4 separate regions of the Homo sapiens genome follow, and all the other regions are linked to region 1. The links are contacts of gene promoters, found by promoter capture Hi-C in blood cells and fetal thymus (Javierre and others, 2016). All regions are on one chromosome and are shown on one strand. The core of a region is centred on a gene start or on the middle of the fragment in contact, and the rest is flanking DNA. Distances in the headings are between cores, read along the strand shown. Region 1 holds the start of PRR16 (proline rich 16). Region 2 holds the start of HSD17B4 (hydroxysteroid 17-beta dehydrogenase 4). Region 3 has its middle 15 kb from the start of SRFBP1. Region 4 has its middle 2.1 kb from the start of DTWD2.

Region 1 (3,818 bases), core at 122-2,621:
CTGGGACTCTGCTACCAGCTCCGCGACGCCGCCGGCAGCCAGCCTGGCTCGGGAGACCCCACCCCTCCCAGCCCGGCCCCCGCCCCCGCCCGGAGCCGCCGCCTGAGTTACGCAGCCTCAGCCCTGACACCTTCTCTGCTTCTTTCCATCTGGATCACCTGGGGCTAGGGGCGGGCGGGAGTAGGGCTGAACCGAAGTGGGATAGGAAAAGCGGGGAAGAACCGAAGCAGTCCCAGCTGCAGAGAGCCAGGACGCCAATGGCAAGACCCCGGCCACACATACACTCTCCTGCGCGTCCTGCTTCTCGGGTTCAATGCCAAGTGGCGACAGGGTGGAAGGAAGGAAGCAGAGGTAGGGTGGCGGGAAGGCCCAGAGTTACTGGTAACGACGTTCGGAGGAGAGCAGGGGATGCTTCAGAAACTGAGAAAGTGAGAAAGTCCCAGACCCCCTCCTTAGCCCCAAGGCTGCCAGCAGCCCGGGTCGCCTTCCCTACAGCGAGGCTCGAGAGACAGGGAGGGTAGTCTGAGCCAAGCTTCCTCCAGGCTGCCCTCCCTGATCTGGCCCAGGGCCCAGAACCCGGCCCCTCTTCAGCCCTGACTTGGGGAGGCTGACAGATAGGCAGCGGACTTGCCAAAGGACTCTGGGGAAGCAATAGGGCAGGAGAGGAGCATCTTGCACGCTCCAGCCGGGCTGCTCACGACTTCCTCTGCCGACACACCCCCAGCTAACCCTCTCCCCCGTCGTCACACACACAGATTCAGAGACACGCGTGCGTTCATCCCTCCCACCAGCCCAGGTCCATCGATTAAAACACTAGTTGATTTCTTCCTGATTAAAAAAAAAAATTAAAAAGTGCAACAACAACTCCTCTCAGGACTCCAGGAGCAAAGAAAGTCCGTCTGCAGGCGCCTTTTCTGTAGTTTCCCAGGAGTTTGGAAATCTGGCTGTCCCTGCTGAAAATCGGAAAGGGGACCCCGGAGGGGTCGAAGGGTGCCGAACTCCCTCCCCACCCCTGCGCCTCTCACCTCCTTAAGTTCCTTGGCCACGTCCTTCAGGTCGCCCAGGACTAATTCCAAATCCTCCACGATGATCTTGATCTGTTCCTTCACCTTGGTTTTGGAGGCTGCCGGCGGTCCCTCGGCTGGACAGGACGAGGAGGGGTTCCCCTTGGACTTGGCTGACATTCTTTGGGGGCAAGCGAGGCAGGTCAGGACAGGCGGGCGAGCGGAGGCTGCTGCGTGCCCCCGTCCCTGGCGCTGCTACGGCCGCTGCCGCCCCGGTCCCCCCACATCTTGGGCGCTCCCTGGGCAGCGGCGAGTGGCTGCGCTCCGCGCTCGGCCGGGCGGCCGCACAGTGGTGCTGCCATCAACTCCCGAGACGCGGCGCTCGGCTCGGGGCTGCAGACGGGCGAGCAGCGCGCCTGCGCCTCCTCCCGCCGCCGCCCGGCGCTCTCGCGCACACGCGCTCGCTCCCCGCCCGCGGAGAGGGGCGCCGTGCTGCCGCGCCAGGGTTGACGCTTGCAGTCCCCTCGACGTTGCCCTTCGAGATATCTCCCAGATGCCACCTTGGCATCAAGGTGGGGGAGACAAGTCCGTGTCCTGCCCGCCCCCTCCTCTTGGTTCTGAAATGTCCCCATCATCTCAGCCTGCTTGCTGTATGTCATCTCACAACTAGCCTGGATTCTTTCTGCTTCACTTGCTAGCAGGGACCTGGATCAATTCAGAAAGAACCACAGTGGGATCAGGAGTTGGAGACAGTCTGTAAAGTGGCCCTACAGATTTATCCAAACCCAAATGATGTCCAGAGGCCTTTAATCAATCTCTTGGTGACCTGCGAGTTAAGCAGACTTCTTAACTTCTGCAAGAAAAAAGGGGGGGGGGGGTGCACATAACAGCTAATGGTCATCTATTGAAACCATGAAATTCAACCAGTGTTCTTGAAAGAGGTACCCTAATCCTGCTAATTCCACAAAGCTAATACCGGATTTATTAATTTGAAGTCCCCACACCCCAAATCCTCTCTGATTGTCTCAGTCATCTTGGCTGTATGTCTTATTTGGCCCAACTCTTTTTTTTTTTTTTAACTGTCCTTCCTCTTTTTGTGACCTATGCTGATTTACATTTTGAGTGGAGTGGGGGAGACATCGTATTTGGACCTCGTGAAGGAGCTGAGTAAGAGATTGCCTCCAACTTCTCTTTCATCATTTTTTAAACCTCCATTTCAACTCTTTTGCTACTAAACAAATAGGAAACAACTTTCTGACTGTTCTGTCAAAAAGACCCAAGAAGGGAAGTTAATAGGAAGCCTTCGGTTCACTCTCAGTAGGTGTCTACAATTCTCATTAGCTAGAATTTTAACTTCCTTAGTTGTAAACCCATGGGCTATTAGCTACTGACCCAGCAGGCTGGCTCTACTTTATTTTCTTCACTGCACACTCCTCCAGATCATTCTTTTAATAGGCTTCCCCTTTTCGTCGTGCCTTAGCAAGGCTCTCTGTTTCTTGCTTCTCACACTCTGGGTAGCTCCACTGTGCTACACATAAAGAAAAGCTTGGCAGCTCTCCTCTTCCCAGTTCTGTAGGCTCTTAATCAATCACTCTCTTAATCCTGGACAATTCATCTTTACAAAACCTTTGGAAGTCATATGTGGAATATAGAGGAAGAAAGAGAACAGAAGAAAAAATTGAAATTTGAAAGTGGTGTCAAAAGAAAACCATTGAAAACTGCATTGAAAAATCAGGGGAAGAAATGAGAAAAGGTGAAAAGCAGATGCTGCTGGAAAGACTTAAGAAGAGATTATAAGAACAAGTCTGCAGCATGCAAACTGGAGAAAAGAAAAAGAGAAGAAATGATTAAAAGTGTGAAATAAGTAATATGCTTGAGTTCTCTGAGGTAGGGAGAATTAGATTTTTAAAACATCCTTTTTCTCCTCAAATTCTTTATTTTATAAAAAATATAACATTAAAATAATTATATCAGGTTTACAGACTCCCCAAAATTGTCAAAACTAGCAAAAGCTAATGGTAGGGGAAAAGAGAAAGTACTATTCTTCTAGATTGGAATTATTTTTGACTCTTAATAGTAGGCAAGTGTGTAAGAAAGCCGCCAAACTCAAAGTTAAGTGACTTTAGACAAGGATATGGGAGAGGAGGAAAGGAAATTGTGATTTCCCTCACAGTGACAAAATAATCCTCCCACAATATAAGAAGATGTCCATGCTACTCTGAATCTCATTCACTAAAGATTAAAAAAAAAAAAACAAAACAGGCTAGGCACAGTGGCTCATGCCTGTAATCCCAGCACTCTGGGAGGCCGAGATGGGTGGATCACAAGGTCAGGAGTTCAAGACCACCCTGGCCAAGATGGCAAAACCCCATCTCTATTAAAAATACAAAAATTAGCTGGGCATGGTGGCAGGAGCCTGTAATCCCAGCTACTCAGGAGGCTGAGGCAGAGAATTGCTTGAACCCGGGAGGTGGAGCTTGCAGTGAGCTGAGATCGTGCCAGTGCACTCCAGTCTGGGTGACAGAGCGAGATTCCGTCACAAAAACAAAACAAAAAAAACTGTTCTCTTCTGATACTCTGATATCCACTGCTGCTACTGAAACAAATAATTCTGACTTAAAATCAAATCATAATTATTGCTTAGAAACACACCACCCACACCCATATCACAGTTCACTCTGAAATAATCACTATCATCTATCTATCTATGTCTTTATACAATATAGAGTTAACTGAATAGGGAAAAGTTAAAATTGGCTTCCAGGCCCAAACTGAGAAAGCTGGTAGGATTGCAGCAGTGGTGTCTGTCCCTAT
Region 2 (4,209 bases), core at 196-2,695, 1.0 Mb after region 1:
GTCTTAGAATGTAATCCCTGGACCTCCTGCATGAAAATTATCCAAGAGCTGTCAAAAAAGATTTAAAACACCAAGCGTTGTAAAATACATTATTTACAATAAAAGCAAAGTGTAAACAAAATGTTTTCCTAAAAACATTTAGAAGGTATGACTACACCCAAATACATGCCCATGCAGAGATAACCAGACAGCTATGGGTATAAAATACTTGGCTATTCATCAACACTGAAAGCATTTTCTGAAAGGCAGCATAAGAAGCCACTTTATCAATACAGATATGAAAGTACATAGGAATTAATTGACAGAATTCCAGTTTGTAACGTTTAATATATAACTCAAATAATTCATGCATTAGGGCCTTTCCAGGTATAAGGTACTACCAGTGGAGAATCAAAGGTGCATAATGTCAAGATCCCTGCACTTGGAGGTTACAGAGGTCACCCACTGGTGAGAAACTAATGTAAAATCTCACTGCACAGCATCTATGTTGGTATGAATGGTTTGTTTTAATTTTTTGTACTTTAAAAAATGGGGCTATTTCACATAACAATTTTCCATTTTGCCGCTCCTGAAATACAGGCAACTTTCCCACTGGCCGGTCCACTTCGGAATTCTCTGCTCTCCAGTTCCTCAGATGTGCCCATCCTACTCCCATTTTCTTTCTCCATCATACGCCTGACCCCTGTGCGCATTTGAGCTTACAACCTCTGCCAAGACTCCAGTGGATTTCGAGAACAGATTGTGACTTGCTAAGCATACAAACTCCAACGGGGAAGGGCTCTTATCAGACGCCCTCTTTAAAGAAGGTCCTCTCACGAACTTAAAATCTTACGACAGAGGGAAACAAACACTGAACGACCGAATGACTTTTCAGGAGCTGACATCTCTGCGCTTCAGGGGGCGAATTCCAGCCCCCGCCCCTCGCGGCTTTTCAGTCCTTTAAAAGACTAGGCAAAGATCTAAGAGAGTTAATTGCAGGAAGAGTAACAATCGATGCCCACAGATAAGGGTCAGGGAGAACTTTCACCCAGTTTTGCAATCAGCAGCCCAGCCTGGCCTCTCCTCTCAGGCAGGACCTTGGGAAGCCCACACCGGGGTGCTGGGGAGAAGCGGGCTGTACCTGCTTGAGAGACCAGGTGTTTCCGGCTCTTTCCTCCTCAAGAGATGCGGTGCCTCAAGAATAACCATTCCCCTCCCCACCACCTCAGCGGGGTGACCTCAGCTGCGGCTGCGCGCGTATGCCGGCCCGAAAAGAGCAGCCAGCTGCGCCTCAGCAAGGGGCGCGGCCTCCAACCTTCGCATGCTCACCTGCCCCCGCGCCGGTGACCAGTACCACCCGCCCGTCGAACCTCAGCGGTGAGCCCATGAATAAGGCCTGCAACGACACACACACGAACAAGCAGAGCCGCTGGACGCCGACTGCGGGACAGGAGGAGGCGGGGAATGGCGGGGGCGGGACGAGGGTCAGTGACTTGCCGATTTCTGGTAGGAAGATGAGCGCAGAGCGCGCGGCTCCCTTGGAATCCTGGGAAATGTAGTTAAGAGTGACTCCACTCGCTGGAAGACTTGCCTTCCAGGGGCCATTTCTGCGGCTGGAAGCAATGGGAGCTGCTAGGACTTGTGTAGAAGAATAGTTAACTCGACACCTTGCGTTCATCTATTCACCTGTCGTTTCATCATTCACTCAATAAACGTTTTCTGGGTTTAGTTGCTGACCTAGAGAAACAGCATGCGGCCCCTATCCTTGAGGGGCTTCCAGAGATAGCCCCTGGGAAGGAAAGTCCCCCTTAGGGATGGTAAAGATTTGTCAGTGTAATAATCCCTGCACTTCTACATGCAAACATCAGGGGACTGTCAAAATGCAGAGTCCTGGACCCCCACTGCTTACCTCCCAAAATAGAATCTCAAGGGGCAAAAACATTTTGACAAGTGTTCCTAAATGATCTTGCGTTTGTATGTTGAGAACAGTCATAGTTCAATCAACATTTACTGAGCATCTCCTGAGTTTTGATAGGATCCTCAAGCTACTCAGAGTCAGATGGTAAACTTTCAATAACGGTGCAGCCTAGACTTGTGACCAATGTGTGTAAGTGAGCTAATGGTGTCAAAATAAACAGACCCTATCCCCGCTGGGGAGAAAGAGGAAAAACTTTCTGAAGGAGGACCAGGACCTAAAGTGGCGACCCCTGCAAAGAAAGAAGGGCATTACAGGCAGCACAAACACTAGCTAGGTTTGGGGAGAAAGAGGGTAAAGCCACAAAAGCAAAGCCAGCAAGATCATGTTTAGATGTTTGAATTTTGTGCTGAAAACGGTTTTAAGTAGGATTACTCCAGAGAGTGGTGGGAACACATTTACACTATGGAAAGATCACTTTGCCCATTATGGAGGATTGATTGGATGTTGCGGGAAGTCATGGACCCCAAACAGAGGGACCTGCTAGAGCCGCAGCAGAGGAACATAAATTGTGAAGATTTCACGGACATTTATCAGTTCCCAAATAATACTTTTATAATTTCTTATGCCTGTCTTTACTTTAATCTCTTAATCCTGTTATCTTCGTAAGCTGAAGGTGTACGTCACCTCAGGACCACTGTGATAATTGTGTTAACTGTACAAATTGATTGTAAAACATGTGTGTTTGAACAATATGAAATCAGTGCACCTTGAAAAAGAACAGAATAACAGCAATTTTTAGGGAACAAGGGAAGTCAACCATATGGGCTGACTGCCTGCGGGGTTGGGCAAAAACAGCCATATTTTTCTTCTTGCAGAGAGCCTATAAACGGACGTGCAAGTAGGGAAGATATCACTAAATTCTTTTCCTAGCAAGGAATATTAATATTAATACCCTGGTAAAGGAATGCATTCCTGGGGGGAGGTCTATAAACGGCTGCTCTGTCTTATGTGGTTGAGATAAGGACTGAGATATGCCCTGGTCTCCTGCAGTACCCTCAGGCTTACTACGGTGGGGAAAAACCCGGCCCTGGTAAATTTGTGGTCAGACCAGTTGTCTGCTCTCGAACCCTGTTTCTGTTGTTTAAGATGTTTATCAAGATAATACATGCACTGCTGAACATAGACCCTTATCAGTAGCTCTGCTTTTGCCCTTTGTCTTGTGATCTTTGTTGGACCCTTATTAGTAGTTCTGCTTTTGCCCTTTGTCCTGTTCCCTCAGAAGCATATGATCTTTGTTCTGCTTTTTGCCCTTTGAAGCATGTGATGTTTGTACCTACTCTCTGTTCTTACACCCCCTTCCCTTTTGCAACCCTTAATAAAAAACTTGCTGGTTTGAGGCTCAGGTGGGCATCACGGTCCTACTGATATGTGATGTCACCCCCGGCAGCCCAGCTGTAAAATTCCTCCCTTTGTACTCTTTCTCTATTTCTCAGCTGACTGACACTTATGGAAAATAGAAAGAACCTATGTTGAAATATTGGGGGCAGGTTCCCCCAATAATTAGAGGTGGGCAAGGAGAACATAGAAAAGATTTGGGGGAAATTATGGAAACCAGAAGTAAGGCAGAGGAAATGTTGAAGAAGAAATGTTGAGATAAACTGTATTTGCAAATGGAACTGACAGGGATAGAAGGCAGGGAAATTCTGGGCAGAAGAGGGCAGGTCCCCAGTGAGGGCTCCAACCTCAAGCCTGAAAACACAGCCCAAAGTGAGAACATGCATCCCTGTTTTCCCTCTTGAATGTTGCCTTTTCCAAAACCACCTATGGTCCCCCTGCCCCCCATCCTGTGCCCATAAAAACCCCAGGCTCCAATGGCAGAGAGGAGAGGAGAGAAGAAACAGCTCGACTTCAGAGGTATGGCTTAATGGCGTTGCTCCTGGGGAAGATCACCTTCTCACTCCATCCCCTTTTCAGCTCCCCTTCCCATTGACAGCCACTCTCATCGGCAATAAAATCCTCTGCATTCACCATTATTCAATTTGTTCCTGTGACCTGATTTTTCCTGGATGCCAAACAAGAGCTCAGGTGCCACAGGTGTGACACTAAAGGCTGTCACACTGACCCTCTGCCCTCACTGGCAGAGAGCAAGTGCCTCACACCAAAAAACAGAGGGCCTACTGAGCTGTTTAACATTTAAGCCATCAGTGGATGGCAAAGTTAAAAGAGCACTGTAACACACACCCTCTGGGGCTTCAGGGGCCTTAGGTACCCCTCTAGACACTGCCAAGGGCCACATAGAGTTTTGCTCCTGC
Region 3 (4,135 bases), core at 272-2,771, 1.5 Mb before region 1:
AAAGCCTGTAATAATTTAAAGTTAAGTTCAGAAAACATTATTAAAACCCAGTTCAGATTCTTTTCAACATAGTGATTGGCTTTGATTCATTTTAATAAACGTTTTTGAGTGTCTATTTTGCAAAGTATTGTACTAGGTTCAGTAGGAGATACAAAAATGATGAAGACATTGTCCATGTCCACCGTGGACTTACAGAGTAGTAACTTAAATGATTCTAATACCAAGATAGACTGCATTAAGTACTGTAGTAAGAGTGTGAGGCACTATTGGAGTCTAACAGGGCAGTGAACAAGCAGTTTGACGAGAATGCTTCCTACAAGAGGTGGAATTTGAGTTTCATTTTCAAGGAAGGAAGCACTTTAATAGGAAGCTGAAGAATAGGAAGAGAAAGTTTCCACTGGAGGAAATTAGTTAGATAAAACTAGGTAATAGAAGACACACTATTTCACAAATAGAATAAAGCTTCCAAAGGATTTTTCATAAACCCCTAAAATCTCCAAAAACATTGTTAGGCCTAGCAATGAAAACCTTTTTAATTTCTTAAATATATTTTCTACACACGTCCCTCCTAAAAAATGATAGTTTTCTTAAGTTATTAAACATTTGAAAAAACTGAAGTAAGGTGTTTTAAGGCAAAAAACAAAATACATGAATCTTAATAGACTGATAGAAGTAGGTTTCAGAATACCTGGAAATTTATGGATCTGTAAATGATTGAGTAATCTCTAAAGGAAATTTTGCTGCATTATACTTAAACATAAAGATAGAAGTTTGAAAGAAAGTAAAGTGAATGATATTGTGAAAGTTAATTATTCAAAATGGAGACATTCCTGTCATACCCAACTAAAATGGAATTGGGAAGCCATGGGGAAGGACACCCAAATCCCTTCCAGGAACTATTTTTGCAATTCAAGAGAAAAAAAACATCATTTTAAGATTACATCTTACATAGTAACTGCTGCCACTTACTGCTTAGAGCTCAGAAGCTCCTACACTCAGCTCAACACTGCTAGTGCCAATGAACTTTCTTTCAAAGCAACGTACATAACTTTTCTCTTTTTCTCAATAAAATTCCAACCTTTCTTTTTGTTTTTCAGACACATCTAAGAGCTACTCTGGATTGTGTGCATTGAATTGCAATTTTAATCCTTGTATATTATTCCCCAATAAATTGTTTATTTGGAAATTCAACTATAAATAGTTTTACTTAAGGTTTATAATGTAAGCCTGTTCAGAGAAAACATTTTTAATTTGTCCATCAAGGAATAAAGTATTTGTAACAAATTTATTGGTCCACTTCTCCATCAAGACCAAGAGAGAGGCAAGATATATGGCCTGGAGAGGTAAAATTAGCAGGTCACCTAGCCTCTCCTTGAAGAAATCAAATGCTGTTTCTCTAGTAAGAAGAAGAGTAAGAGAGAGAAGCTCTGTTATTTTGCCCAGTTCATAGTCAAGCATGATATCTCTGCTTCATTGTTTTACAGAGATTCCTCAATGTGCTCACTGAACTTTAGTAACTACTTGTTACCACTCTACTGCAAGTCTACTTCTCAATGTCACCAGTGACCTCCTAGGCACTAAGCTGGATTTCAGAGCGCTTTAGTATAAGATCATCATCCCAGTCCTTTGCCATTGATTGACAGACTTGACTGTGTTGGCTGAGCCAGTGACCGCTTCCTCTCTTGCCTCCCAACATGTACCACTATCTAAGCTATGAGCCTCATCAGGTAGTGGTTGCTTCACACCAGACTTTTTCATACCTGACCTAGCCACATGGACACTATTAATTCAACAAAAAATTATCCAGCCCAAATGTCAATAGTGCTGAGGTTGAAAACCCCTGATCTATGTTTATGTCCATAACAACCAACTGTATAGTGCAATGAAGTACCAAGGGCTGGGCTGTGGGAGAGGATAAAATCTGCAGAAGTTTGGACTTAAAAACAAAGACGATAATGGTATTAGGGAGTTACGTGACACACCAATATGTAGGAATGTCTCTACTTTTTGTGTTTGATTAATAATTTATTAAATATACTTGAAAATCAATATAGTCTGTAGGGAGCCTTTAAAATGATGCTTTCATAGTTTTTTTTTTTTTACAATCATAGAAAGCAGATGGTTCTCTAAAACTTACAGGTAATTAAAGGCTTCTTAAACTCACAGCATACAAATATTTCAACATTTAAATAGAAGCTCATTTTCTTCTAAAGTAATTTCCTTGTACATTCTTATTAAAGTATAAAAAGGACAACATTAATAGTTTTAAAAACCTATATTTAACCTAAATCAAGATTTTTCTACAAATTATCCCTGTTCCCAAAAAGTTTAAAAGATATCAGAGAGTAATGTGATACTAAACCAAATAATCTCATCACAATGGAGCATTTCACTTTTAAGAAATATTGGGCAAAATTTCCTATTTAACCTTTCATGCTAGATTTTAACTGTATGTGTGCTACATGACATACCAGATTAATCCAAGTCATTCTGTTGATGCAGTAGATTGTTATATATGACCAGTTACCATATAATATCATACTGTAATTGCAAAAATGACAATATTTATGATAAAGCTTAGAAAATCTTTTTAATAAAAAGCAGACCTCACTGCTCCAATTTTTTATAAAAATTACCTCTTTTCCTCCTATTTATTTTTTGCCTTGAATGGTACCTTTCATAGTATGTTAATATGCAAAGATATTTACATTACTTTTATCTAAGTTAGCCTTTTACATGGTTGCTTTCTGTTTGGATACACAGAATTTATCAAAACACACTGACAGTAGATTCTTAAGCAATTCTGAAATTTTTGGTCCCTTTTTAGGTTCCTGCAGAATGATTTTTCTCAGAAAAGTGTATCTCTAAGAACTTAATGAACCAAAAGAAAATGAATGACACAACACAGCAACTGTATTTCCATGGTATCTTATACCCCAAGAAACACTTCAAGATTACATTGTCTAATATTAGGCCTATTGCCATGCAATGACCTTGAGCCAAAGACCACCAGAAGCACAGCTGTAGTTAAATGAGTTAGATTTATTACTTGTTTCAATGAGGGAGAATGCACACTATAGGGTCTCGGTAAGAAGGTGTTTGAAAGCATCTGTAGAATTAGGGGTTTGCTTGAGTAATTTTGGAGAGGATCTGATGAAGCAGGGGTTAGATCTAAATTAGGTGCTTTCAGAAAGCAGAAGGAAAATCCATGAATATCTCAATAAATCTTATGTATGGGGAAGGCTGACTACAGTGAAGATAAAGTTGAAATTGATTTATAAAACAGTCACTCATTTTAGCTGGGGAAAGGAATATTTGGTATTTTGTGGTTGAACAATGACCATTTTTTAGTTTCACTTAGTCATGGTCTCAGAGTTATCTCATTTGATGTTGATATTCTGTGAGACTGTTTATGTTCAAGAGCATAACAATATGGCCTAGTTTAGAGCATCAAACCAACTTGTAACAACACTGTTTTAGATCAGTTCTCCAGTATCAGGAGCAGCTGTTTTTCCTCCTCAGCTCTATTTACAAAACTTATTCTTTGTTCTATCTTATTTACGGATGTAATCTTAGTCATCTAAACCAGAAACATTTGATTAATTTTAATATCTCATTTATCTTACCCCTGACACCTTAAAGGATTATTTGTCACCAATTTCTGTCATAAGTATCCATGAAATGTCTTTTAAATTCATTCCTCGTCCTCTATCTCACTACCTTTGTTCAGCCTCTCATTATCTCTTACCTAAACTGTCAAAATTGCCAGCAAACTGGTCTCCATGTTTCTTGTTTTACACCCTACAATCCCATTCTCTAATTAATATCAAAACCTTCTTCCCAAAACATAAAAGGATCATTTTGTTTCCTCATTTTATAACCTTTAATAACTCTCTTTATCCATACATTTTGTTGCACAAGGTCTAAAGTCCTATCCTGCCATTCAAAGCCCTTAACAATTTGGTGCATCTTAACATTACCATCTCACTTCAGATCAGTCTACCATTTCCCATATATGGTCAGTGTCCAATAATTCATTCAACAAATATTTGTTGAAGGTCTTTATTATGTGCTTTTATTGGGCCATGTTATTTTCTGTAATTTTTAAAATTATGTGACCACTACTGTGCTTGTT
Region 4 (3,853 bases), core at 1,354-3,853, 1.5 Mb after region 1:
ATCATTAAAAAGTCAGGAAACAACTGGTGCTGGAGAGGATGTGGAGAAACAGGAACACTTTTACACTGTTGGTGGGACTGTAAACTAGTTCAACCACTGTGGAAGACAGTGTGGCTATTCCTCAAGGATCTAGAACTAGAAATACCATTTCACCCAGCCATCCCATTACTGGGTATATACCCAGAGGATTATAAATCATGCTGCTATAAAGACACATGCACACATATGTTTATTGCGGCACTATTCACATTAGCAAAGACTTGGAACCAACCCAAATGCCCATCAATGATAGACTGGATTAAGAAAATGTGGCACATATACACCATGGAATACTATGCAGCCATAAAAAAGGATGAGTTCATATCCTTTGTAGGGACATGGGTGAAGCTGGAAACCATCATTCTCAACAAACTATCGCAAGGACAGAAAACCAAACACTGCATGTTCTCACTCACAGGTGGGAATTGAACAATGAGAACACTTGGACACAGGAAGGGGAACATCACACACCAGGGCCTGTTGTGGGGTGAGGGGAGCGGGGAGGGATAGCATTAGGAGATAGACCTAATGTAAATGACGAGTTGATGGGTGCAGCACACCAACATGGCACATGTATACATATGTAACAAACCTGCATGTCGTGCACATGTACCCTAGAACTTAAAGTATAATAATAATTAAAAAAAAAAAAAGTATCCTTGATGAAGTAGCCTAAGCTGCTGCTCTGCCTGTGGAGTAGCCATTTGTTATTCTTTTGCTTGCCTAATAAACTTGGTTTTCACTTAAAAGAAAAATAAGTGGCCAGGCGCGGTGGCTCAGTCCTGTAATCCCAGCACTTTGGGAGGCCGAGGCGGGTGGATCACCTGAGGTCCGGAGTTCAAGACCAGCCTGATCAACACAGTAAAACCCTGTCTCTACTAAAAATACAGAACTGGGCCGGGCGCGGTGGCTCACGCCTGTAATCCCAGCACTTTGGGAGGCCGAGGCGGGTGGATCATGAGGTCAGGAGATCGAGACCATCCTGGCTAACAAGGTGAAACCCCGTCTCTACTAAAAATACAAAAAATTAGCCGGGCGCGGTGGCGGGCGCCTGTAGTCCCAGCTACTCGGGAGGCTGAGGCAGGAGAATGGCGTGAACCCGGGAAGCGGAGCTTGCAGTGAGCCGAGATTGCGCCACTGCAGTCCGCAGTCCGACCTGGGCAACAGAGCGAGACTCCGTCTCAAAAAAAAAAAAAAAAAAAAAAAAAAAAGAACTGGCCTGACATGGTGGCACGCAGCCTGTAGTCCCAGCTACTCGGGAGGCTGAGGCAGAATTGCTTGAACCCGGGAGGCGGAGGTCGCAGTGAGCCCAGATCACGCCACTACTCTCCAGCCTGGGCGGCAGAGCGAGACTCCATCTCAAAAAAAAAAAAAAAAACAAAGGAAAAAGCCACTAAATTTGTGGTTATTAGTTCCACAGTGATAGAAAATGAATATAGCAAAAAATACCATGTTTTTATTTCATTTAAATCAAATCTTATACAATGCTGAATCCTCATACTGCAGGCCTGGCAGGATATTCAATCCCTTACATTACTGAGGCCCTTTCCTCTACCAGTAACAGGATCTCCTTTTCCCACAACACCAGGCGTGGACCTAAGATTGTCCTCAGTCTTTACTACCCAAACTCCTCTGAGGCAAAGGAGCATAAAAGTCTGGTTTTCTACCTGAAGTTGGGAGATAAACAAAACATACATTAACACCTCAATACATTATCTTGACACTAGTAAGTTGTCTGTATCCCATAAAGGATATTTTACTTCCCTTTCTGGTGTCTTGGCACTTCCCAGAAGCTGAGTCACTGATGGTCTGATACCTGGGTCTGCCCCAAGGTGGTAACCTCACCTGCATGTTTCCTCAGGCGTCTGAAGGTCATTGTTCACAAACCTGGATATTGGGTGAATTTCTTGCTTCCTATAGAGGAAAATGGCTCTCCTTTCTCAACTCTGTGTCTTGCCTGGATGGAAGCTTTCTTTGATTTTGGTCAGCCTCTGAGACAATGGACTTGTAGGGGATTTTCTTCATAAGGAGCGGAGATGGAGCAGGAGACCACTTAGGTCTTTGGCAATATTCTATGCAAGAGATGACGGGGGCTTGAACCAGGGCAGAAGTAGTAGGTGAGATAAATGTTTGGATTTTGAATACTTTGAAGGGTAAAGCCAATAATCTGATATGGGGTGTTAAAAGGAAGCCCCAAGTAAGTAGGCTCACATCAACCTAAAAGGAAGGAGCAGAGGCAAAATTAATATAGAGAGTTTATTTGGGCCAACGTTGAGGACTGTAGCCTAGGTCGTACTTCCAGGTTGCTGTGGAGAGTGCTCTGGAGAACAAAATGGGCTGGAGTTTTTAAAGAAAAGAGAACGAATCAGCAGAGGGGGGCATTACAAAAGCTATGTCTCAGGAAGTGTCATTTATTTACAGAAATAACATTGGTTAGTGATTGGCTATACATATTGTTGAACTATAGGGTATACGGCGTTTTATGGCTACTCGGTGTCAGTCTAGGGCCTGCATAGCAAGTGCCTTCAAGAGGTAATTATTTAGCTCAAGGGAGAGTGAGACATGACTGCTCGCATTCCTTAGATAAAAAGTTTTTTTTTTTTTCCTTATCATCTGTCTTCTCACACCACACAATTGGGAGTCTCAAGGGACCTTAGAGGACTTGAGCACATTTCACCTCTTGAAATTAAAGATGAGCAGCTTCCTTTCGTTTAAAGATAAGTCACATGAGAATTTAATTTTGGCAGTTAAAGAATTGGTTCCCCAACCTAAATCTACAGACAAGATGAATTTTCTGATTCATCTCCTTTCCTACAGTTTCTGGATTTTGTTTATCCTCCGATTCCAAATGGCATAATTGCTAGTTCTTTCTCCCACTCTACGTCCATCACCAGGTGGGTGTTTCAGCCTTTTTCTATCCCTCACATAGGACGCTCCAAAGGAAAAGAGAGGTGCTGTTTCCGGGGGGAAAGAACGTAGGATAGTTGAAAACAGCACGGTATTTTATTCACAAACTTGATTTTAAGATGACTGAAAAATCTAATGTGAAATAAACATTTTAAGAAATACAGTATTTGCTCTATTACTGTGTTGTCTACTTTGCCTCACATTTAATCTATTACAACTATAGAGTTAAGACAACTGTGATTCCTAAGCTTAATTCACATGATTGATCAAAACCAAGCTTAATTCTGTTTTAATGTTGTGTATTGCTGGAAGTAACACAAAGCATTAATAAACAAAAGGAATTCGATACCCATTTTGGGTAAATAGTATTTCTGCCTTCATTCTAACATAGATTTCATTTTGGCTTTTAAAAAACAGCTGCTGTGCTATATACCGCCGTATCCAGTAGTTGTTAAATACCTGGGCAACGTTACCTTTCTAGGGCTTGTTTCCTCATACATAAAACCTATTGGTACCCCGGGCCAGCTCTCCTATTGCTTCCTGATCGGGGACGATCTAAAAATCTAATTTAACAAATATCTGGTGTCCAGTGTAAAATAGCATGCTTGATGTCTTATTAGCACAAGACATAGAAGAGCAGGAAATTCACATAAGGAAACGGACCAGCTGTGAGTAGTTCCCAGTGGATATAACCTCTCCTTTGTTGGCCTTTAAATAATAAGTGCATCAGCTGCCGCACCTGCGATGCATGCACGCGTGGAAATCCTGCAAATTCTTAAACTGCCATCCCAAGGCGGAAAATGCAGAATTCCATTTTATTTTAACTTTTAAAGGAGTTAAATTCGGGCTTGGTACTGGGGTCCTCTCGGGGAGGTTTCCCTTACCTCTCCCAATGACGCTACTTAAC

Evidence for each region. Contacts are between HindIII fragments. The CHiCAGO score rates a contact against its expected background, and 5 or more counts as called.
Region 2: the fragment with the promoter of HSD17B4 here is called in contact with the fragment with the promoter of PRR16 in region 1 in 1 of 17 cell types (total B cells); the score reaches 5.1 in total B cells.
Region 3: a contact is called between a fragment that was not itself captured here and the fragment with the promoter of PRR16 in region 1, in 1 of 17 cell types (megakaryocytes). The highest score is 6.4, in megakaryocytes.
Region 4: a contact is called between a fragment that was not itself captured here and the fragment with the promoter of PRR16 in region 1, in 2 of 17 cell types (total B cells and naive B cells). The highest score is 9.1, in total B cells.

The regions. Positions count from the first base shown.
Region 1 is chr5:120,461,853-120,465,670 of GRCh38, reverse strand. PRR16 (proline rich 16) reads right to left here and starts at 1,371. Exons shown (of 2, transcript NM_001300783.2): 1 at 1,026-1,371. The coding sequence starts at 1,184. RefSeq lists an enhancer at 496-997 and a silencer at 1,403-1,452. The HindIII fragment of the contact is 2,017 bases long and covers 535-2,551 here.
Region 2 is chr5:119,449,733-119,453,941 of GRCh38, reverse strand. It overlaps HSD17B4 (hydroxysteroid 17-beta dehydrogenase 4), which reads right to left and starts at 1,445. Exons shown (of 24, transcript NM_000414.4): 1 at 1,309-1,445. The coding sequence starts at 1,366. RefSeq lists an enhancer at 1,295-1,344. The HindIII fragment of the contact is 7,394 bases long and covers 1-4,209 here.
Region 3 is chr5:121,944,740-121,948,874 of GRCh38, reverse strand. No RefSeq gene overlaps it. Among named protein-coding and RNA genes, the nearest start is that of SRFBP1, 15 kb to the left of the region's middle. The HindIII fragment of the contact is 2,114 bases long and covers 465-2,578 here.
Region 4 is chr5:118,988,761-118,992,613 of GRCh38, reverse strand. No RefSeq gene overlaps it. Among named protein-coding and RNA genes, the nearest start is that of DTWD2, 2.1 kb to the right of the region's middle. The HindIII fragment of the contact is 1,187 bases long and covers 2,010-3,196 here.